Regions from separate parts of the Homo sapiens genome. Here regions 1, 3, 4, 5, 6 and 7 are each linked to region 2. The links are contacts of gene promoters, found by promoter capture Hi-C in blood cells and fetal thymus (Javierre and others, 2016). All regions are on one chromosome and are shown on one strand. Each heading gives the region's core, a stretch centred on a gene start or on the middle of the fragment in contact. The rest is flanking DNA. Distances are from core to core; before and after follow the strand shown. Region 1 overlaps TPP2 (tripeptidyl peptidase 2). Region 2 holds the start of EFNB2 (ephrin B2). Region 3 has its middle 6.8 kb from the start of TPP2. Region 4 has its middle 25 kb from the start of TPP2. Region 5 overlaps TPP2 (tripeptidyl peptidase 2). Region 6 overlaps TPP2 (tripeptidyl peptidase 2). Region 7 overlaps FGF14-IT1 (FGF14 intronic transcript 1).

What was found. The method cuts DNA at HindIII sites, captures the fragments that hold promoters and counts their contacts. A CHiCAGO score of 5 or more calls a contact.
Region 1: a contact is called between a fragment that was not itself captured here and the fragment with the promoter of EFNB2 in region 2, in 1 of 17 cell types (neutrophils). The highest score is 8.3, in neutrophils.
Region 3: a fragment that was not itself captured here is called in contact with the fragment with the promoter of EFNB2 in region 2 in 2 of 17 cell types (total B cells and total CD4 T cells); the score reaches 7.0 in total B cells.
Region 4: a fragment that was not itself captured here is called in contact with the fragment with the promoter of EFNB2 in region 2 in 2 of 17 cell types (naive CD4 T cells and monocytes); the score reaches 6.0 in naive CD4 T cells.
Region 5: a contact is called between a fragment that was not itself captured here and the fragment with the promoter of EFNB2 in region 2, in 1 of 17 cell types (monocytes). The highest score is 5.3, in monocytes.
Region 6: a contact is called between a fragment that was not itself captured here and the fragment with the promoter of EFNB2 in region 2, in 1 of 17 cell types (monocytes). The highest score is 5.3, in monocytes.
Region 7: a contact is called between a fragment that was not itself captured here and the fragment with the promoter of EFNB2 in region 2, in 1 of 17 cell types (naive CD8 T cells). The highest score is 6.0, in naive CD8 T cells.

Annotation. Positions count from the first base shown.
Region 1 is chr13:102,608,821-102,611,915 of GRCh38, forward strand. The region is part of intron 2 of TPP2 (tripeptidyl peptidase 2); the gene reads left to right. Among named protein-coding and RNA genes, the nearest start is that of TPP2, 13 kb to the left of the region's middle. The HindIII fragment of the contact is 7,733 bases long and covers 1-3,095 here.
Region 2 is chr13:106,534,224-106,537,124 of GRCh38, forward strand. It overlaps EFNB2 (ephrin B2), which reads right to left and starts at 1,439. Exons shown (of 5, transcript NM_004093.4): 1 at 620-1,439. The coding sequence starts at 741. RefSeq lists a silencer at 1,227-1,886 and an enhancer at 2,467-2,536. The HindIII fragment of the contact is 2,990 bases long and covers 1-2,856 here.
Region 3 is chr13:102,588,728-102,591,730 of GRCh38, forward strand. No RefSeq gene overlaps it. Among named protein-coding and RNA genes, the nearest start is that of TPP2, 6.8 kb to the right of the region's middle. The HindIII fragment of the contact is 1,327 bases long and covers 741-2,067 here.
Region 4 is chr13:102,570,452-102,573,522 of GRCh38, forward strand. No RefSeq gene overlaps it. Among named protein-coding and RNA genes, the nearest start is that of TPP2, 25 kb to the right of the region's middle. The HindIII fragment of the contact is 2,391 bases long and covers 443-2,833 here.
Region 5 is chr13:102,625,893-102,628,772 of GRCh38, forward strand. It overlaps TPP2 (tripeptidyl peptidase 2), which reads left to right. Exons shown (of 30, transcript NM_001330588.2): 7 at 1,120-1,274; 8 at 1,956-2,032. Among named protein-coding and RNA genes, the nearest start is that of TPP2, 30 kb to the left of the region's middle. The HindIII fragment of the contact is 6,147 bases long and covers 1-2,880 here.
Region 6 is chr13:102,673,268-102,676,257 of GRCh38, forward strand. It overlaps TPP2 (tripeptidyl peptidase 2), which reads left to right. Exons shown (of 30, transcript NM_001330588.2): 28 at 1,016-1,223. Among named protein-coding and RNA genes, the nearest start is that of METTL21C, 20 kb to the right of the region's middle. The HindIII fragment of the contact is 2,614 bases long and covers 390-2,990 here.
Region 7 is chr13:102,391,249-102,394,077 of GRCh38, forward strand. It overlaps FGF14-IT1 (FGF14 intronic transcript 1), which reads right to left. Exons shown (of 4, transcript NR_036486.1): 2 at 2,510-2,583. It also overlaps a transcript of FGF14 not described here. Among named protein-coding and RNA genes, the nearest start is that of FGF14-IT1, 1.9 kb to the right of the region's middle. The HindIII fragment of the contact is 522 bases long and covers 1,289-1,810 here.

The DNA.
Region 1 (3,095 bases), core at 62-2,561, 3.9 Mb before region 2:
CTCTGCTTTTTATGTTAGATATTTTGTTTAGGTGTCTAATCATCCCTAGCTGTCTTATTTTAGCAAGGCACAAGAAAAGGTGATTGGAAGCTCCTCTGCTTATGTAGGGTCTTTTGGTGGGTTTCACTATAGGGTAATGATAACATTTAGGGGAACCCCCATAATATCAGTATACACTATATTTTTTTCCCTCAGGATGCCCAGTTACCTTAAAGAAGTCCTTAGCCCATTTGGCCTGGGGTTTAGGGGAGGAGTGAGCAAGAAGTCTGGCCGTAGGTATTCAGGTAACCACACCATGCAAGGGGCCTGGAGTGATGTCATGCAGACTCATTTTTATGTCTCATCCTTTTTGTATTAGTTCCTTTTCACATTGCTATGAAGAACTACATGAGACTGGGGAATTTATGAAGAAAAGAGGTTTAATCGACTCACAGTCCTACAGGCTTAACAGGAAGCATGACTTGGGAGTCCCAGGAAACTTACAATCATGGGGAAGGTGAAGGGGAAACAAGACATGTCTTCTCATCATGATAGAGCAGGAAAGAGAGCCAGCAAAGGGAGAAGTGCCATGCTTTTTTTTTTTTTTTTTTTTTTGAGACGGAGTTTTGGTCTTGTTGCCCAGACTGGAGTGCAATGGCGCGATCTCAACTCACTGCAACATCTGCCACCCGGGTTCAAGCGATTCTCCTGCCTCAGCCTCCTGAGTAGCTGGGATTACAGGTGTCTGCCACCACACCCGGCTAATTTTGTATTTTTAGTAGAGACAGGGTTTCACCATGTTGGCCAAGCTGGTCTCAGACTCCTGACCTCAGGTGATCTACCTGCCTCAGCCTCCCAAAGTGCTGGGATTACAAGCGCGAGCCACCGTGCCCAGCCCCCATGCATTTTTAAACCATTAGATCTTGTAATAATTCATCATCACAAGAACAACAAGGGGGAAATCCACCCCCATGATCCAGTCACCTCCCACCACATCCCTCCCCTGACACGAAGGGGTTATATTTCGACATGCGATTTGGGTAGAGACAGAGCCAAACCATATCACCTGTTCTTTGCTTTGTTGACATGTCAGCTTTTCTCTGGTTCAGCTTGGTTGGTGAAGTTTGGGCAGGATGTGGGATGGGGCAATGGGAGTGCTCTTATACAAATTTTCCGCCAGTCTTCTTAGTCAGAACTCTCTTCTCCATCCATCCATAACATGTACTCACACACATGTTCAGTTTAATTTTTTTCAGGGATGTGCAGGTGTTTAGATATTTTGCAGTAGTCAATAAAAGGAAGAATTATTAATCACTGGGATTCTGACTAGTTGCATCTCTGCAACTCTTTAGTACATAGTTTTCAGAAAGCAGCACAATGAAGTCTTCAAGTTTCTTTGATGTAGTCGTGCATTTATTTATTTATTTATTTATTCATTTATTTATTTATGACAGAGTCTTGCTCTGTCGTCCAGGCTGGAGTGCAGTGGTGTGATCTTGGCTCACTGCAACCTCCGTCTCCTGGGTTCCAGCAATTTTCCTGCCTCAGCCTCCCAAGTCGCTGGGATTATAGGCACCCGCCACCATGCCCGGCTAATTTTTTGTATTTTTAGTAGAGACTGGGTTTCACCATGCTGGCTAGGCAGGTCTCGAACTCCTGACATCAGGTGATCCACCCACTTCGGCCTCCCAGAGTGCTGGGATTACAAATGTCAGCCACCGCGCCCAGCTGTCATGCTTTGAAATGAATTAAATGTTTATAGTCTGTTTTTTCCACATAGCCCATAAACTGCTAACAGACTTTTATTTTTCTGTCAGTTTAAGATCAACTGTTAAGTTAGGTGCTTTGAACACTTTAGTAGCCTCATTCTCTAAGGATGATATTCCTAGGCTTCCTTGAGAAACCAGTGGTAAGCTACTTATGACCTATGGTACTCCCATGAGCAGATAAAAGTACAAAAGTGAATAGAACTTTAAAACCTTTTATTGCAAAATATACATACATAAAATACATAAAACACATATATACAGTTTTATGAATAGTATAGCTAACACCATTGTACCCACCCAGATCAAGATAAAGAGTATTGCCGTACATCAGAAACTTCCTGCATCCTCCTATATCACAGCCTATTTCAACTTTTGTGATAATCATTCCTTTGCTTTTTTGTGTGTAGTTTTACCATATCTGTGTGGCTACATAAAATATATTGTTTAGTTTTGAACTTTACATAAACAGTCTCATTTCATTCATAAAATTTCATCATACGTCATTTTTCCCTTGGTGTTGTGAGATTTCAGATTCCTGAGACTTGCCCATGTTGTCACGGGCAGCAATGATTTATTAAGTTTCATTGCTGTGCAATATGCCATGGTTTGTACCTACTACATTCTATCCATTCTGCTGTGATGTGTGTGTATCCTGTGCACATGTGTGTGGATGTCTCCAGAATGTGTGCATAGGAGTAGAATTGCTGAATCATGGAGATATGTCACTAGGTCATGCCAAACAGTTTTTCCAAGTGCGTGTTTGTTTGTTTTTTAACTGGACAGGACATCTTCTTGACCAAGTGTCTGTATTAAAGGACATTTCCAGGCCGGGCACGGTGGCTCACACCTGTAATCCCAGCACTTTGGGAGGCCAAGCACTTTGGATCATCTGAGGTCGGGAGTTCAAGACCAGCCTGACCAACATGTCGAAACCCCCTCTCTGCTAAAAATACAAAAATTAGCTGGGCATGGTGGTGCACACCTGAATCCCAGCTACTAGGGAGGCTGAGACAGGAGAACACAGAGGTTGCAGTGAGCCAATATGGCGCCACTGCACAGCAGCCTGAGTGACAGAGCGAGACTCCTTCTCAAAAAAATAAAAAAAAGACATTTCCACTAGCAGTGTATAACAAATGTTTTCTGACCCCATGATCATAGAGATATTCTCCTATATTTCTAAGAAGTGTCACAGCTTTTCTCTTCTGTTTGTTCTAGAATTCACCTGGAAGTGATTTTATATGCTTAGTTTGAAGAGTTCTGTTTCCTTTTTTCTGTAAAAAGACCCAGTTGTCCCAACACCATGTGTTCCACAATTTTCACTCTAATTTTTAATGCCTTCTTTTCACT
Region 2 (2,901 bases), core at 189-2,688:
CGCGGAGGAAAGGGCTCGACGCCCGAGTTCTCCTGCGAAGCAGGCGAGCTCCCCGCGCACCCTCGGGCTGGCGGCGCGGTGCCAAGGCGCCCCGGCTCCAGGGCTCTGCGGGCAGCGTAGCGACTCCAGGCTCCCCTCTCCAGAACGCGCTTCGCTGCCAGCGTCCTGCCACCCCGGTCGCCCGCCCGCGGGCCCCGGACCACGCCGCCCGCGCTCCCCGCGAATGCAGCATCTCCGCCTCTCTCCAGAGCCCACCAGTCCCCGCGTGCCGGCCAGCCTAGATTGTGGCCATGTCCTTCGTCCTCGAAAACAGGAGAGGGTCAGGTATCGCCATCGGACACCTTCCCGGACTTGACACCCGAGCCGATAGTAGCTTTTAGCGCCTGGGAGCGTTCGGGGGAGGAAAGGCGGAGAGACCGTCCGTTCCAGCGGGGCTCGGGTTGGAAAGCCGAGCGAGGAGTCTCCACCTAGTGAAATGGGGCGGGGGTTGGGGGTGGGGGACGGGGAACCGAGGTTCCAGAAACAGGCTCCGAGGCCCCGCGGACTGACCCCTCCTCCCGCCCGGACGGCGCGGCGGACCCCGGGGCGGGGACATAGGGGGATCGCGGACGCCACTTACTTGGAGTTCGAGGAATTCCAATAGATAGGCTCTAAAACTATCGATTTGGAAATCGCAGTTCTGCATAAAACCATCAAAACACCCCAGCAGTACTTCCACACGGAGTCCCTTCTCACAGCCATGGCGAAGCCACTCCCAGCTCCGCGCACTCCGGGCCAAGAAGGGACTGACGGGACGCAGGCTGGGACCCCCAATCCTCCGGGGCAGACTGGCGGGGAAGACGGCGTGCGCCCGCAGGCAGCTCCGAGGCGCGCTGCGCAGCTCCAGCGGTCGCCGGGCCAGGTGCGCTCGCTCTCCGGGGCCCTCAGGGCGCGGGGCGGGAGCGCACGCGCGGGGCGCGGCGGCGCGGCGGACTCGGGGTTCCGGGGCGCCGCGCCGGACGCAGCTCGGACGGCCGACTCCCGTGCGGCTCCAGGGTGCCGGGCCGGCCGCGGCTGGCGGGTGGGCGCGGGGCGGGTGCGGGCTGGGACACAAAGACCCGGAGCGGAGACGACCGGCGCGGGCGGCGGGCGCTGCGCCCCGAGCGGGGCCGCCTGTGACTATAGATCCAGTGCAGCGGGCAGCGGCCCGAGCGCGCGGGCGCCGCGTCGGCGCGGTTCCATGTCCCGGAGCACGGAGCGGAGTAGGGCGCCTCCGGGCGCGCAGGAGCCTTCTCAGTCCGCGCGGCTCCCGGCCCCCAGGGCAGGAAAGAGGGAGCTCGGTCCCCGCCGCGGGCTCCGGACGCGCGCGGGCCTTTGTGTGCGGGGAGGGCGCCGGGACCCGCTGCGTGCGCAGCTCCTCGCTCCGGCCGGCGCCGCGGTCCCCGCCGAGGAGAGTCAGCGCGGCCGCCGCGCTGTCAGAGCGCTATAAACGCGGGGCCCCGCCCCGCCGCGCGAAGCCCATTGGCCCGCGGCTCCGCGGCCGCGCGCTGGTTGGACGGCCGGTCCGTCCGTCCGCCATCCCCTCCCGACATTGGGTGCCGCGAGGCGGGGCTCGGGCTGACAGGTGAGCCCCGCCCCTGGCTCCCGCGGGCGGCGGGAGCGGAGCAGAAGCCGGGCAGGAGAAGCGCTCAGCGCGTGCACAGGGCGCCCCCGGGGCGGCGAGAGGCCTTCTGGGCGCGGTGCAGACGTGGAAACAGCGACGGCCGAGTAGCGGGCCACCTGTCTCCGCGCCCGGGGGCGCCTTCCCCCTCGGCGGAATCAGAGGGCGCGGCTTTCCCTCGAGCAGTGCGGAAGGCAGCAGGCTCCGCTCGGCGTCCCTTCTCCGCAGATGCGGCGCTGCCCCGCGTGCAAGACTTGCACTCCGCGCGCACCCTTAGAGCTCCCGGCTTCTGCGCGCTTCTCCCGACGCCTCTCGGCGAGGGCTTCTCACTTGATTTTGGTACCAATCGCCTACGGCTCAGTTTCAGTCAGTGGGGCCGGGAATTGCAAGACGATTCCTGCGACGCGGCGCCGGAATTTGCAGCTCTAATCAGGGCCTGAGCATCGTCGCCTCCCGCCTTCTCTGCGGGCGTCTCCCTTCCCTCCTGGCCCCCCGGGAAGGTGGCGCCCCTGGAGCTTTCCCCGCGTGTCGCCGGCACAGGCACGACGCGGGGACCGTCTCACTAGCCTCTAGGAGACACGCGCGCTTCCCAAAGTGACCAGAGATTTAGAGGGTGTGAGATGGAAAAGTCAAGGCATGTGCTTCTCACTCGGCGTCTGCAAGACCCCAGAGCAGAGCTGGCAGGAACTCCTCGCTACTTTCCCGGTCGAGCGCCGGTGCTGACGCTCGTCCGTGACTTCCACGGAGCCACAGCGCCCACTAGCGGCCAGCTTTGCTTCTCCGCATCTCGAGCGCTCTGCGGTCCACCGACCCGGATCCAGCATACTGCAGCATCTAATCAAGTCACAGTTCCAAGGAAAATCTTTTTATATGTCCAACAGTAGGAAGAACACGGTAGAAATAAGGCACAGTGCAAATGTACGATTCAGTATGAAAAATTAAAATATACTGTATGCCCACGTTTTTTTTCAATTTAATGCCGTCCACCCCAGGATTTATGTTTCAAACACAAACTGGGCAGTAATTCTACAAATTATGTATTTTTAAAACAAAGTATCCACTACGCTAAATTTAAAAATGCATATGGTAAAACACCTTGTTTTCTTTCACTCTTCTTTGTAACAATTTCTGAAGATTTTTATGGTACGTTGCTTTTAAGTATCCGTTTTTGAAACATTAGTCTAACTTAACGTATACATCTCAGTTGGAGTGGTAAAAGCTTGTGAAGACTAGTTTAAGATAGAAAACACATTAAGGCATAC
Region 3 (3,003 bases), core at 154-2,653, 3.9 Mb before region 2:
AATTCATGTGTTGAAACCTAATCCCCCAAAGTGATGGTATTTGAAGGTGGAGCCCTCAAGAATGGGATTAGCGCCCTTATAAAACAGGCCCCAGATAACTCCCTCACCCCTTCCCCTGTGAGGACACAGTAAAAAGACAGCTGTCTATGAACCAGAAGATGGGCCTTCACCAGACTGAGTCTGCAACTTGCTCTTGGATGTCCCAGCCTCCAAAACTGTGAGAAATGAATTTCTATTATTTACAAGCCACTCAGTTTACGGTATTTTGTTATAGCAGCCTGAATGGATGAAGACTGTCCCCATGGGCACACGATAGAACTGTACTTTTCTGCCTCCTTGGACTTGGCCGCGGCCATGAAACTTGCTTTGGTTAATGAAATGTGAGCAGAAGTGATGGAAGGTCTGGAAGCTGATGCCTATTTCCCCATGTTCTTGTTTCTCCTGCCGTGGTGACCAGCTACATTCCAGACAGTGCAGCCTTTCAACCTGAATCCAAAGGTGTGACAGCTTGGAGCAGAGCTCTCAGCCAACCAGGAATGGAGATGCTGCAATGAGTAGACAAGGGCAATGTCTTTTAGCTCACCGGAATTTGGGCTTGTATTCTGCCACAGCATAGCCTGGACTATCCCTGATCAACACAGAGGTCCTAAGAAGTTATTTACTGAAAATTCCAGTGAATGTCTCACAGCTGGAGAAGGCAACAAAGAGGAGCATAGAATTGGGCCTCGTGCCCAGGATTAAGCTTGCAGATGCAAGATGCTGCCCACGAAGGGAAGCTCCCGCCTAAGCCCCCGCTCTGTGTTTCCCCGTACATACCATCTGCCCCACACAAATAATCAAGGCCATCTGCCACATAATTCTCTTATGTCTTTAAACCTACAGTCTCTAGTGTCCTCTGGAGGTAAATGGATTCACTGTTCTGCCCAGTTTCTACTGGTTCTGCAGAGGGAAGGGTGAGCCTCTGGTCCCCAGGACAGCTGTTCAGAGCTGTTGGGGAGAAAGGGAGAAAAGGCAGCTCTGGTCCCACAGATGAGAGGAAAATGGTGAGAGATTTCACCATGTTTTGTGACATACGTGAAATTAAACACACCTCACCACTCCAAGTATTAATTTCCTGTCAAAAGCACCTATTTTTCCTATATGAAAAAATCACATTTCTCCTATTTACATAACATCGGCTCTTTTCTGTGTAAAGTAATAACCCTAGCCGTATAATGCTAAAAGTACATCTCCCCATCTCTGGCCTGGGAAGGCATTTTAAAAAAATTTCTTGCATTAACTGACAATAAAAGACACCATTCTGAAATTGATTCAACTTCGATATAGCTTTTGGGGTGTCTGAGTCTTTTTTTTTTTTTTTTGATATGGAGGCTCACTCAGTCACCCAGGCTGGAGTGCACTGGCGCGATCTCGGCTCACTGCAAACTCCACCTTCCAGGTTCAAACAATTCTCCTGCCTCAGCCTCCCAAGTAGCTGGGATTACAGGCACCCGCCATCATGCCTGGCTAATTTTTGTAGTTCTGTAGAGATGGGGTTTCACCATGTTGGCCAGGCTGGTCTCGATCTCCTGACCTCGCGATCCACCCACCTTGGCCTCCCAAAGTGCTGGGATTACAGGTGTGAGCCACTGTGCCTGGCCCATTTTTGTTTTGCCCAAAGAATATCCTTTAGTATTTACTTTTTGCTGTCTTTCTGGTGACACATTGCCTCGGCCTTTGCGTCTCTGAAGATGTCTTGATCATGTTCTCTTTCTTGAAGGATGTTTTCATTAGCTACAGAATTCTGGGTTGGCGATTATTTTCTTTCAGCATGGGTGAGCTGTCGTCTCATTGTCTCCTGGTTTTCTTCATTTCTGTTTGGAATCGGTTCTCAATCAATTGCTGCTTCTTTGAAAGTAATCTTTTTTCTCTAACTACTCTTGCCTTTTCATTTTTTTTTTACTATGATGTCCCCAGATGTAGATTTTTTAAAATTTATCTTGCTTCAGGGCCATCAGACTTTTTGAATATATAGGCTTTCAACTCTCAGATATTGCTTCTAAAGCATTTTCTTTCTCATTTCTTAAAAGCTTGTTAGAACTTCCCACTATTACATCTATTACTCTTTTCATCTCTTCTGTGTTTTTCATCCTTTTATTTTTCCAGGTATTTTTTAGTATTTTCTTGCAATTTATAATTCTTTTTGGCTAAATGACAGTAACTATGAAACTCATTCTTAATTACGAAACCGAGTTTCTTAATTAAGAAACTGAGTTCCTAATTTTGTTTTGCTTTTGTATTTTTCAGTTCTAAAATTTCTTTTTGGCTCTTTCTAAATTGGCTTTGTCTTTTTTAAGTTTCTGATTTTCTGCCCAAATGCTCAACTATATCTTTATCTTCCTGAATGGAGTAAATATAGGTATTTTAAAGTATTTTGCTTCTGCCAGGCAGAACTAGCTGAGTGGGTTTCAGCCTTGGCTACCCATTAGAATAATCTGGGTAGATATAAAATATCTCAATGCCCAGGCGAAAATCCAGACCAATTAAATCAGAATATCTGGAATTCTGGGAATCTGTGGGCTCAAGTAGCGATATTTTTAAGGTTCTCCAGATGATTCCAATGAACATATACCATTGAGAATAATCACCTTGATCCAAGTTCAGGACTTAATATTATCTATAATGTGATATCCCTCTGGGGCCAGTCTAAGTTTACTTTCAATTTATTCCTATTTGTTGGGTGTGGACTTTGCAGCCTCAACCCAAAATATAGGTTTTCCATGCTGTTCCCACTCTTGGCAGGCTCTGGCCTCCACTCTTGTACCCATAGCCCTGGGAGGCTGTAAAAAAAAATTCTGTCTCTCAGCTACCTCTTTACGCACTGGCAAATGCCCTGAAAGGCAAAGCTGTCTCAAATGTTAGGCTTAAGTCTCTGAATTTATGTCTTTTACGCGAACTCTTCACCACCCTGTTAGCTCTCTGATCCTTCAGGAAGGTATCTTTCAAGCAGATATTTTTCATACA
Region 4 (3,071 bases), core at 388-2,887, 4.0 Mb before region 2:
AATACACTTGCTCTATCTCCTGCTTTCATTTCTTCTCTCTATCTCTCAGTCTCTAACTCACATGTATTTACCCGCTTTGCAAGTTTCTGCATGTCCATGTTTTTAAATGTCCCTATAAGCAACACTTTCCTAATTCATTTACTGTATCAAAGAAAATATCTCCTCCAGTACCTTCATCCCCATTAAGCCTTGGAGCTAAGTACTCCAGAAATATCATCCATTACTTTTTCCTTGAAAGTCATGCAAAAAAATTATGACATTTATATATAAAGATGGTTTTTTTCAATCTAAAGATGTTGAAAAATCTCCACAGTAGGAAACTATTACTACAGACTGCATATGAATGCCTGTATCCCATGAGATTCTACCACCGAGTCTCCCGAGATGGTGTATTGAAAGCCCCTTTTAACCTGAACTCTTCATTTGGATTGCATTTGCAGGAAGCTTGTAAATGCTGTATATAGGGAATATTTGTTGACTGATGGAATCAATTTAAATGCAAGTCGTGAGTTTTAAGAAAATTAAAGCAGCTTTATATAGAAGTGAAGTTAAGGCAAACTCCATGGCTTGCTGTGAAGTGGAATTAGAGTGCAGGCACAGATACCAAAATCTATATTCTTCACTCCTGGCACTGGCTGGTAACAACAAAAAAATCCTGAAAGGGATCTGCTGGAGACAGGATTGGCGAGAGCAGGGGAAAAGACAAACGGCACTGCTTCAGCTGGAGCACAGAGGACAGGACCCGTTCAGGAGCCAGAGGAGGAGATGGAAAGCAACCCACAGAAGCCATGAGGCCCTGGGGGCTCTGGTAGGACACAGCAAAGAAATGCAGGTGGATGGTTCCCTCTATTGGTGAAAAAATTGCAGATCATATTAGTTGCATCATTGATTTCTGGGAAACAATGAAGAAAATATCGGCAAAGGTAATATCTGAGGATACCAAGGTAAGGTGGGGAAATCTCATTTGCAATTTTAGGAAAGGAATCCAGTTTGGTGGTCTGGAGCATTTGTAATAGCAAGCCAGAGTCACATGGAAGCCCAGGAGCTCGCTTAATAACTTATTTTTATATTTATTTATTTATTTGTTTGTTTTGAGCCAGAGTTTTGCTCTTGTTGCCTAGGCTGGAGTACAATGGCGTGATCTTGGCTCACTGCAACCTCTGCCTCCCAGGTTCAAGTGATTCTCCTGCCTCAGCCTCTCAAGTAGCTGGGATTACAGGCACCCACCACCAGGCCCGGCAAACTTTTTTTGTATTTTTAGTAGAGACAGGGTTTCACCATGTTGGCCAGGCTGGTCTCGAACTCCTGACCTCAGGTGATCCATCTGTCTCGGCCTCCCAAAGTGCTGGGATTACAGGCGTGAGCCACTGCGTCCAGCCTTAATAACTTATTTTTAGGACAAAATGTATGTGTAGATTTTATTATATGCAGAAACACAATTACATTAAATCTAGCTCTTTGTTTCATAGTAAATTAGAGCTTAGCACAAATACTATTCCTCCTGTATAAATGATTTATTTAGCTAAACAAATTACATTGTAATTCTCCTCAGTTTAAAAATGTAGAGCTTATGGGTTTTCAAAAGGTTCAGGGGAAACATACTAAGTTTCAAAGCCTAAAACTGTTAACATTCCTCCCTTATTCTTACTTTATCATGATATGCTATGCTGCAGATGTTTCTCAGAGACATTCAGTGAAAATCTAAGTCTCTCTGTTCATCATTTTTAATAGCCATGTGAGTTCAAGTCTTCAAGAATGGTTGAAAGGGGACAAATAAGGAACTCTCTTTTCTTAAATTAAAAACAAGAAAGTCTTCACCAACTTAAGCATCTGGGAAGCTATAAACTGAGAGTAATAAAAATTGATTAACCTTAACTGGAGAAAACTCCCACAGACCTTGAAATATTTTTGTGTAGGAGATAAATAATACAGCTGACTAATGATCTCACAAGTGCAAATATAGAAGACGAACTGGAGACATCTACAGGATCTTCCTTGTTCGGAACACTGCTCAGGTCTTTGTTCTTTGATGGAAATCTACATTTACGAGCCACCAGATCTGGCCTGTCAAACCTACTTTTCGTTTTGGTGACTGACTGATATCCAGATGACATGAACAGCGTTTACATGTGACACATAAATATGTGCATGCAATTTAAGAGCTTTGCCGGTCATCAGATTTGGAGAAGGAATAAAGGAAAAAATCATATGCATTTTTTAATATTTACATATCAATACAAGACTAAATTTCAGTCTTTGTGCCTCATAGTGAGATCAGCAGAAACTCTGCCTGCTTTTTTTCTATTGAGAAGTTCAACAACTTTAGAAACAAAAAAAAAATTACCGTTTAATTCTTTTGCAGTACACATTTTAGTCTAAAAAAAAACCCTTTATTATTTTCCATGATTGAGAATCAGTGTGTCCTTTTTGCTTAAAAGTATCAAAGAATGAAAAAGGATTTCATGCATCCAGATATTAATTGAGGAAGCCGCTAGTGGCCTTTGCTGTAAGAATATTGATATTTTAAGTACATTTTGAAAGGTTGAATAAGTGAAAATAAATAGTGCATCTATGCTCATTGAGTTTAGACATTTAGATCAGAGATTCTCAACCTGAGAGTCTCAATAGAAACTCTATTGATCATTTGTGAGATTTGTCTCAAGAAAGTGTTTGCTCCTAATGAAGCGTTACCAGGAGCAGTTTGAGAGGTGGGGAGTTTTCTTATCGTGAGACTGGACTCAAGATTCAGTGCAGTGGCAAAGTCATTGAGCTTTGCACGTCAGAGGGAAATAAAGGTTTTCCTTAAACAAAGAAACTCTCATTCGTGTTAATAAGCTTTTCTGAGGGAGAAAGAGAACGATGAAGTGGGGAGTTGTACATATCTTGTATCCGAATTTCACAGTAAATAATCATTACTGTTGAACCTTAATAGCTGTATTGAATACAAATTATTGCACTGCATTATTTTTACCAAAATGAAAGGAGGAGAAACTTTTGTGAAAATCTGGGTATAACCATGGCAGTTGTCTCATATTTTAACTTCATAATAGGAGGAAAAGGCTGGGAGAACG
Region 5 (2,880 bases), core at 339-2,838, 3.9 Mb before region 2:
GTGGGATATTTCTCTATATTCATGTCTTTTAAGAAACTTTTTCACTAAAAGGCTAGTTTTTTGTTTTAGTATTACTTTATATATAACATGTACAAAAACAGATACAAATCACAAGTTGTACAACTCTTTGAATTACCACAAAGTGGACACTTCTTTGTAACTACAACTCAGGTCAAGAAATGAAACATAATGAAACTCCCATCATGCCCCTTCCTAATCAGTAATGTACCCTCCCACCTCCTACAGTTAACTACTATCCTGATCTCCATTGCCACATTAGTTTGGACCATATGATGTTGCTGTTTTTGTGATCGGAAATGATAAAATAGTGGCAGTTTCAGATGGTTCAGCCTTTTTTTCATTTATATGAAAATTCAATATCCATTTTTGTATGTGACTTCTTTAGTTCAGCCTTATTTTTGTGAGCTTTATCTCATAGTACATAGTAGTAGTTTATTGCTGTATAATTGTCAGTTCTATGAATTGATGTACATGTAACCATTTACTGTTAATGAATCTTGTGGTGGTTTTTAAGTTTTTGAATTTTATAAACAGTGTTGCCATGAACATTTTTGTGGGTGTCTTAGTTACATGTGCACACATTTTGGTATTGTGTGTACCTAGAGGTAGGATGGCTGGCTCATAGGCTGTGGCAGTGTTCAGCTTTCACTCCAGCCAGCAGTGTATGATATGTACTTCCATCCACACTTGCTTTGTCAGCCTTTAATATTTTGGCAATTCTAAAAGGTACGTAGAAGCATCTTTTTGTGGCTTAATTTGCGTTTCCTAGATGACGAATGAAATTAAACATCTTTTCGTGTGTTTATTTGCCCTTTGGGTATCTTCTTTTATAAAATGCTTTTTCAAATGTTTGAAGGGGGGATTCTCCCTTTTTTTATTGTGAATTTGAAAGATTTTTATATATTCTGGATATAAAGCTCTTTGTCAGCTATACATGTTGCAAATACTTTCCTTTGTGACTTGAGTTTTTGCTCTCCATGAACAGGGTAGCAGAGTAATGTGTATTCTTTTTATCATGATTAATAATATGCAAATTGAATTGAATAAACTTTCAGTCCATGAGAATGTTTTGTCATTTCCCCACCTTTGTGTCTCTAGGAGCTCATGGGACACATGTAGCTAGTATAGCTGCTGGACACTTTCCAGAAGAACCTGAACGGAATGGGGTAGCTCCTGGTGCTCAAATTCTTTCCATCAAGATTGGTGATACAAGACTAAGCACAATGGAAACAGGCACAGGCCTCATAAGAGCTGTGAGTGTTTGTGAGTTGTTGATTCAGAAGATTAATGATTAATGATCTTGGATATTTTTAGGTTTATAAGTGCTCCTAGTTTACCAAGAATACATTGAACTATATATAGTGTACAGGACTTTTAACAAAGCAAAAATATTTACTAATTTATTTTTAAATTATTTTTATTAAATATTATTAGGATTTGGCCTAACCTTTGTGAAAAAATTACTTACTTCATACTCGTCATTTCTAGCAAATCTCCTAACAAGCAATTTTGAGATACTTAAAAAGAAAGACCTCTTAGCCAGCTTTCTCCATCAGCCTAAGAGGAATTTAAAACCTCAGCTAACATTCTGTACGTCATTTTAACGTAGGAAAGTATATTTAATTTTAGTGATTTTTTAACCTAGGAAGGACCATTCCATTCCCTCTACCTCTGTCCCCCTCTAACCCCACTCTTTTCTAGAAATGCTAGTTTTTTGTTTTTTTTTTTAATGACTACTTTTTTATGTGTCTCCTCCTACCTTTTTGTGTTTATGTGCTTATATGTCCAGGTATATGGTGATATGCCTGGAGGTAACTTATAAATTAGAATATGATTGGCTAAGAAACTATAGGATTATATATATGCCCTTATTTTACTGGCTAATCTGTTTCTGTAAATTGCTGCCTAAACTAGAGTCTTAATCTCTTTAATAGATGATAGAAGTTATAAATCATAAGTGTGATCTTGTCAACTACAGTTACGGAGAAGCAACTCACTGGCCAAATTCTGGGTGAGTGTTCCTTGACAGTTGTTTAGCCATAGAACCTTAGCCAGTGAAGAGTATGAGATGTTTTTCATAAGTGGATTGAGTGTCACGGTGGAAGAAAGAACAGTTGCAGTGGTTAGATGATAACTGTGTTCAAGAGGACTTTCATCCTCTTGAAGTCCTGTTTGGCTCGTAGGCCGCACACCCCCGTTCCTGTGTTCACATCTGTGACGATGTTAATGCTGTTCACTGCACCATGCCTGAAGTCTCAACTCTGAGCATGCCTGTGCTGTCCTTTGTGGCTCTTCCTTGGTTAGGTCTCCCTCACAGTTCTTCTGAGATATGCAACCCACAGACTCTGGTGTTTTTTCACTGTCAGATGCACTGCATCCTCACTTCTCTTCCCAGGCAATTTAGATCTGACAATCTGTCTATCATTATAATTACTAGTTCCACAAGCACTCTGAAGCCATCCTCAGTTGTATATACATACCCGACAGACGCCCAGACTTGCTGAAATTTTGCTATTCTCTTTAGTGACTTGCATCTCATCTGCAAAACTTACTGTTGGTTGCGTATGTTCACTAACTCGGTCAGTTTTCACATCTCCTCAATCCATTCTAGTGTGTCTAGGATGCACCCCCACTCCCCTCCTTCCTCGTTGGCTTCATTGTCTTTCTGCTGCCAAATCCAGTGTCATGGCCTTGACCTAATGTTACCTTCCTTTTTTTCTTCATAGTAGTAGCTATTTGAAATTACCTCGAGTATTTACTTGTTGATCATCTCTCCCCCATTCCCATCACCAAGCTATCATCTGGTTTTTGAGACATCACTTTACGGTCCTCGTAACATGCACCCTGTTATCATGAGTC
Region 6 (2,990 bases), core at 447-2,946, 3.9 Mb before region 2:
TTGTTGATGGTACAGTCCCGGCAGTTTTCACATGCTACACATTTCACTCTGAGTCTTTCAGAGTCACTCTTAGCTGTTAGTTTGTTCCACAGCTAAGTGCCTCAATCATCATCATTTTCTCAGTACTTTTAGTCCTCATTGTTTTCACGTGTATCTGACATAAGTTGGACAGAATGCCTCAAATAAGCACACATTCTAGAGACTAACACTTTTCCCTGGAGTGTAGGTGGTGGTTGTATTTCATTCAGCAATGATTTATTGAGTTTCCATTCTGTGCCGGGCATTGTCCTAGGCACGTGGAATGCATTGAAGAAAACAAAGATGTCTGCCCTGGATCAAGGCAATGTGCCGTAGTGATTAAGAGCACAGATTACAGATTTCTACTGCTAAGCTTAGAATCCTGGATCTGCCACTTCCTAACTGGAGGACCTTGAACAAATTGCATAGTCTCTTTGGGCCACAGTTTCTTCCTTTGCAACATGGCAGTAATTAATAGTCTCTTACTCAGAATTGTTTTGAATGTGAATGAATTAACATGTTAAAATGCTGAGACAGTTGCTGGCACATTCAGAGTAAAGCATTACATTTATTTGTCCTAGTCATGAACTGAAAGTTTTAAGACATAACCTCTGGGTATACACATAGACAAATGTGTAATGATTACTATTTATAAGAAAACTGAAAACTCAAAAGTCGTTTACCTGATTAAGAGTTATATAGCTAAAAAAATTTAGAATAGTGATTAACCTTTCAACTCTGTTGCTTCTGGCATTCCGTTTCAACCAGGTGCAGCTACCCTAACTCATTTAATCTATATGTGTAATATAGTAGCTCATTTGATGTTTATTAATAAGGCATCATATTTGATGTACAATACAATTGTACGTACCTGGATATACAGTATTTCTGCATTATAAATCTTAGGCAAAAGAATACATGAATTTAAATTCAGATAAGAATTTACTTTTAAAGACATTTTACTGATATCTGAAATATTTTTTAATTTGCTGTACAGTGACATGGACAAACAAAAATCCACCCTCGTAGATGCCCTTTGTAGGAAAGGTTGTGCCCTGGCAGACCATCTTCTTCACACCCAGGCTCAAGACGGAGCCATTTCCACTGATGCAGAAGGAAAGGAGGAGGAAGGAGAAAGTCCTTTGGATTCTCTGGCAGAAACATTTTGGGAAACTACTAAATGGACTGATCTCTTTGACAATAAGGTAACGTTTCTGCTTCTTGTTTCAGCAAAGTTCTTGGGGTTACCTCACAGACCTCTCTTGTGCCCCATTGCTGGTTAAAAGAGGAAGAAGATAAATGGAAAGAATCTACGCTGGGCTCTGAATATGACATGTTTAGCCTAGTACTTCATGTTTGTCTCACCTTTTTTTAAAAAACATTATTTTATGGTACTGCAAACTGGCTGTTAAACCACAATAATTTTAAAAACAGTTTGAGAATATGTGTAGTAGGCTTTTAGTTAAACCAGTTATGTATGTAGCTAAATTAAGAAAGTCTTCTAGAAAATGCCTTCAGGCCCACCCTTCTCTAGTTATATGCTAATTTGTTGGTGGTAGGAGATTGGGGGCAGGTTGAGGAGACATACTGGTTAGTTGTTACTTATTTTCCTCAAAACTCTTGAATTTCTCAGTAATTATCATCTTGATTTGTAGCTAATCAGTTTTAAAACCCAATTCATAAAAGCATCGTTGATGAACTTTTTTGGATTTTGGTTACAAAAACATTTTAAATCTCTTTTAGCTCTCTACTATAATTCTTGCAATAGCGTTTATACAAGTTATTAATCTTCTTTTCCTGTGGAAATAAAATAAAGTAAATGGAGTCAGTAGGATTCCCCTCGCGTATCACAGACCATCATTTTGTTTTAGTAGACAGGTGCTTGTTCTCAGAATTAACTGGTAATTTGCAGTAAAGAACCCTGGAAGTGGGAAGAAAATTCTTATATGGTTCAGATTTTTCCAACACAGTACAGTGGTGCATTTAAAGAAGGTACTCAGTTACTCAGTTATATTTGGGAAACTGAAGGAGCCAGTATTGCAGCAGAGGTCAGGAATTTGAATCTGAAATTAGAGCCCTTGAGTTTGGCTCCTGCCTCTACCACTTTTATGTATGACCTTAGGCAACTTACAAAATTTTGATACCTTAGTTTCTTATCTACACGACCTGCCTTAGGCTGTGATGAATGAGTATTAAGTACATGCAAAGTCCCCAACAATATTTGCTGTTATTGCAAACAATTATTGAAGGCCTATGTGCCAAACACTACTTACTACTGGAAACATAAAGATGAATAAGAACCTGCTTTCTGTCTTTGAGGAATGTAACAGAGATTGACAAACACTTGATGAACATATAATAAAATTGTTATAGATCATTCTATTTTTGCAATACTACTACTATATTAGGGGCTATGCATTCTATTACCTGTTTACTGTGTTTACTGTGTCTATGGCAACAATTGTTAAATACTTTAGTTGCCTTTACAATACAAATCAGTGTCAGGATTTTCTTTGAGTACATTCTCCACATTCCAAAGTAGAGACCAAAAATATATATAAATGATTATAAGTATATTTGACAGATGCAGTAATTACAGGTAAAAACTTGTACCAAAGAAACCATGTTTATATAATCTAATACTTGTTTTTTTACTTCTATCCTCATTTGCAATTTTGGCATTTTTTATTTCTATCCTGATTTGCATCTTTGTAATTATTTATGTTAGCTCTGGTTTCTTGTGCATGAAGAGGTATTTTTAAGTGGATTTCCACGGCTAATAATTTCTCATATTAGTTTTCTTCCCAAAAAACAGATGGTTCATTCTGTGGAATACTCAGCTCTTTTGAAGACACCAATTTTCTTTTTCAAAGTTTTTAAAAATGTACTCTATGTACCATATTCATTTCAAAAGCTACACTTCTGTTAAAGCCTTAATTTTATGGTTAAAGCTAATGCCTTAAAATGTAAAT
Region 7 (2,829 bases), core at 300-2,799, 4.1 Mb before region 2:
GGAAAAGCACTTTGCTACAACAAAGGGCAAGCGGTCTGACAAAGCTGGGCGGACTTTATGGCTGCATATCAGACCACATACTAACTATAGCATTCATGTCACAGTTAGTATCCCCCATACAGAGTCACATCTGCCACACATGTACCAGAATGGCCTCAGTACTGTGTTGTTTAAAATTATTCCCAACATTTTAAAAGAAAACTAGAAAAGAGATAATAATAAGCAATAATGATGTAAAATTTTTATCCTATATCAAATTTCTTAACTGCATCATTAAAATATCTCTAACATTTGGTACTGATCTCATTAAAAGTATTTCCAATATTTAACAGTCATTATTATTTGTCTGAGATGTGAGGTATTTTATGTTACTTGTCATGTGAGTTGAAAAAATTTTTAAAGGTACAAGAAAAAATAATCAAGTTAATGGAAAACATCACTTCTCAGGAAACAAATCAACTCATTTAGCAATGAAGGAGGAAAGAGCATATTGTGTTACTGCTTTCAATTTGTCCCAACAATAAAATGCTAAGGCCAAATGATGGTTACTACTGAGTGCTTACGTAGAAAACTGACTCAGTTCTCCTAGCAGACAGGGTCCTTTCTTTGCTTAAAAGTTACAACACCTGGTATACAGCAGCAATACAACTAAAGAAGATGAGTTTCAGACTACAAATAAGTGGCTGTTGAAACAAAAAGGACTACAATTATGAGATATGATTTCTCTTTTAGTCTTTAAGCCTTCTTATGTTCATATTTCTTAAAGTACAATATTATACCATGTGCTCCACACAGGAAGTGGAAAGAACAGATATTACAATCCCTCCCAAGCTACACCTTTAAGATGCAGCATTACAGATAAGGTTACCACACACTTCAGTGATCCACTATAATTGTGCAGACAACAAAATGCTACAGGAGGAAAAAAAGGCATTTTAACTACATTCATTCCTATCTAAAAAAGCACGTGTGCAAACTTACATATGTAAATTCAATAAAGTTCATACTTCCTTCTCTTTTCTTGCCAGACCTGAATAGTAAATCTGAAAACTTGGCTTTTAATTGCACTACTTGACTCCTCAAACTGAACAAAGTATTGTGTCCATAAAAACATCTGCTATTGACAAAGAATTGTACATAATCGTTTAAAAAAATCATTTTGGCATATCTTTATTGTAAAGCATTTTTTCCCAGTCCTAAGGATTTTCGGGTTTGAAATCAAGATGAACTTTTTATCCCACAGCAACTCTCCCAGAACTGTCCATTTAAATTTTAATCTAGAAAGAGAAGCTTGTCTAAGTCTCCTACTTGCTGTTAAAAGCTACCTCGGCCCCTCAATATAAACAGTCAGAAGACAGCCAACCATGTCTCAAGAAGATGGAAGTGTTCTGTTGGCAAATGGCCAGAAGACTAGCTCACCAGAACTGTCCAAATCAAAAACCTGTAATCAGAAAATTCCAGACTCCTCCTTCAACTTCCTTCCCAAATTCAAACTGGCCACTAAGATGGATGGACTTCACTTCCTCTCTAGTGCCTGTCACTGCCTTATTCTGGACCGCTCACCACTGCTCACTGCTCTTCCTCCCTGGTCTTTCCACCTTCAACCTTGCCCAACCCAGAGCTGTTTTCCACGCTGTAGTCATAATGGTTGTCTAAAGGGTAGATATGATCATGACACAGAAGAGAGCTCACGATCTGTGCCTCACTACCTTGCAACCCCACTCACTACCTGCCACTCCCTAGAAACACCCTCTATTTCTCAGTTGTACTTGATATTCTCGGTCTGCACCACAATCTTTGACGCCCCCAAAGCTTAAAGTATGCTTCTTTCTCTTCCTTGACAGCCTAACCAGTGCCTTTACCACGTGGCTAACTCTTAGTCATTCTTCATGACTCAGTCTGAGTTTTATTCCCTCCAGAAACCTTTCCATGCCCCTCTTCCTTGGCCCTATAGCACCTTGGTCCACCTACACAGAATTGTTCACCACATCATAATTGATCCTGTCTTTTGTCTTTCCTGCTAATTCCTTGAAGGAAGAACTCTTCTTCACCCCTGTATCTCCAGCATCAACAGTTCAAACACAGCAGCACTTTTTAAGTGTTTACTAAGTTTTGTTTTTTGTTTTTTTGAGATTGTAGTTACTGAAAAAGTGATAAAAAGCACGTGGACCTAAAAGAAATAATTCATAAATTTCAGAGTTGTAATAAACTCTGAAAATAATCTTTTTCAACTTCTTAATTTACAAATGAGGTTTATAAAAAAGATTTAAGAAAGATTTTTCCCAATAGCATGGATATGAGAGAAGGAAAAATAAACTAGTGAAGATACCCTCCCCTACCCCGAAAATCTTAAAACTGTCTAAGGAAAAGGTATCTGGGGAATATAATGGATAAATGGAATGCCATCTATTTCAGCACCAACCACACAATTCTATGAAGCGCATGAGGAGCTCTTCCTAGTGTCACCAGTAAAATACGCGTTTCTTCACCCAAGGCTCAAAGCTTCTACCTGTGTTTGTGCCTACAATTCCAAAACTGGCTCTTGGAACAGTCGCTTCCTCCACTGGGAAGGAGTTGCCACACCTGTAAAAGGAACAGGTTGTTTGTGATCGCTAAGGTCAACCTCTTATCTCTGATGGTCTCTGAATTTAGAGTACAATTTAAATATATAGTTAACATAGTCCGGGAGAGATACAGGGAAGGGGTGAGGGAAGTTTACTTACAATCAGGACTGGGTGTGAACGTTATGGGAACCTAGAATATTAGAGCTGGGGCTGATCTGGGATTACTCTAATCAATATCCTTCTTGTAGTAGCCGAGGGGACTGAA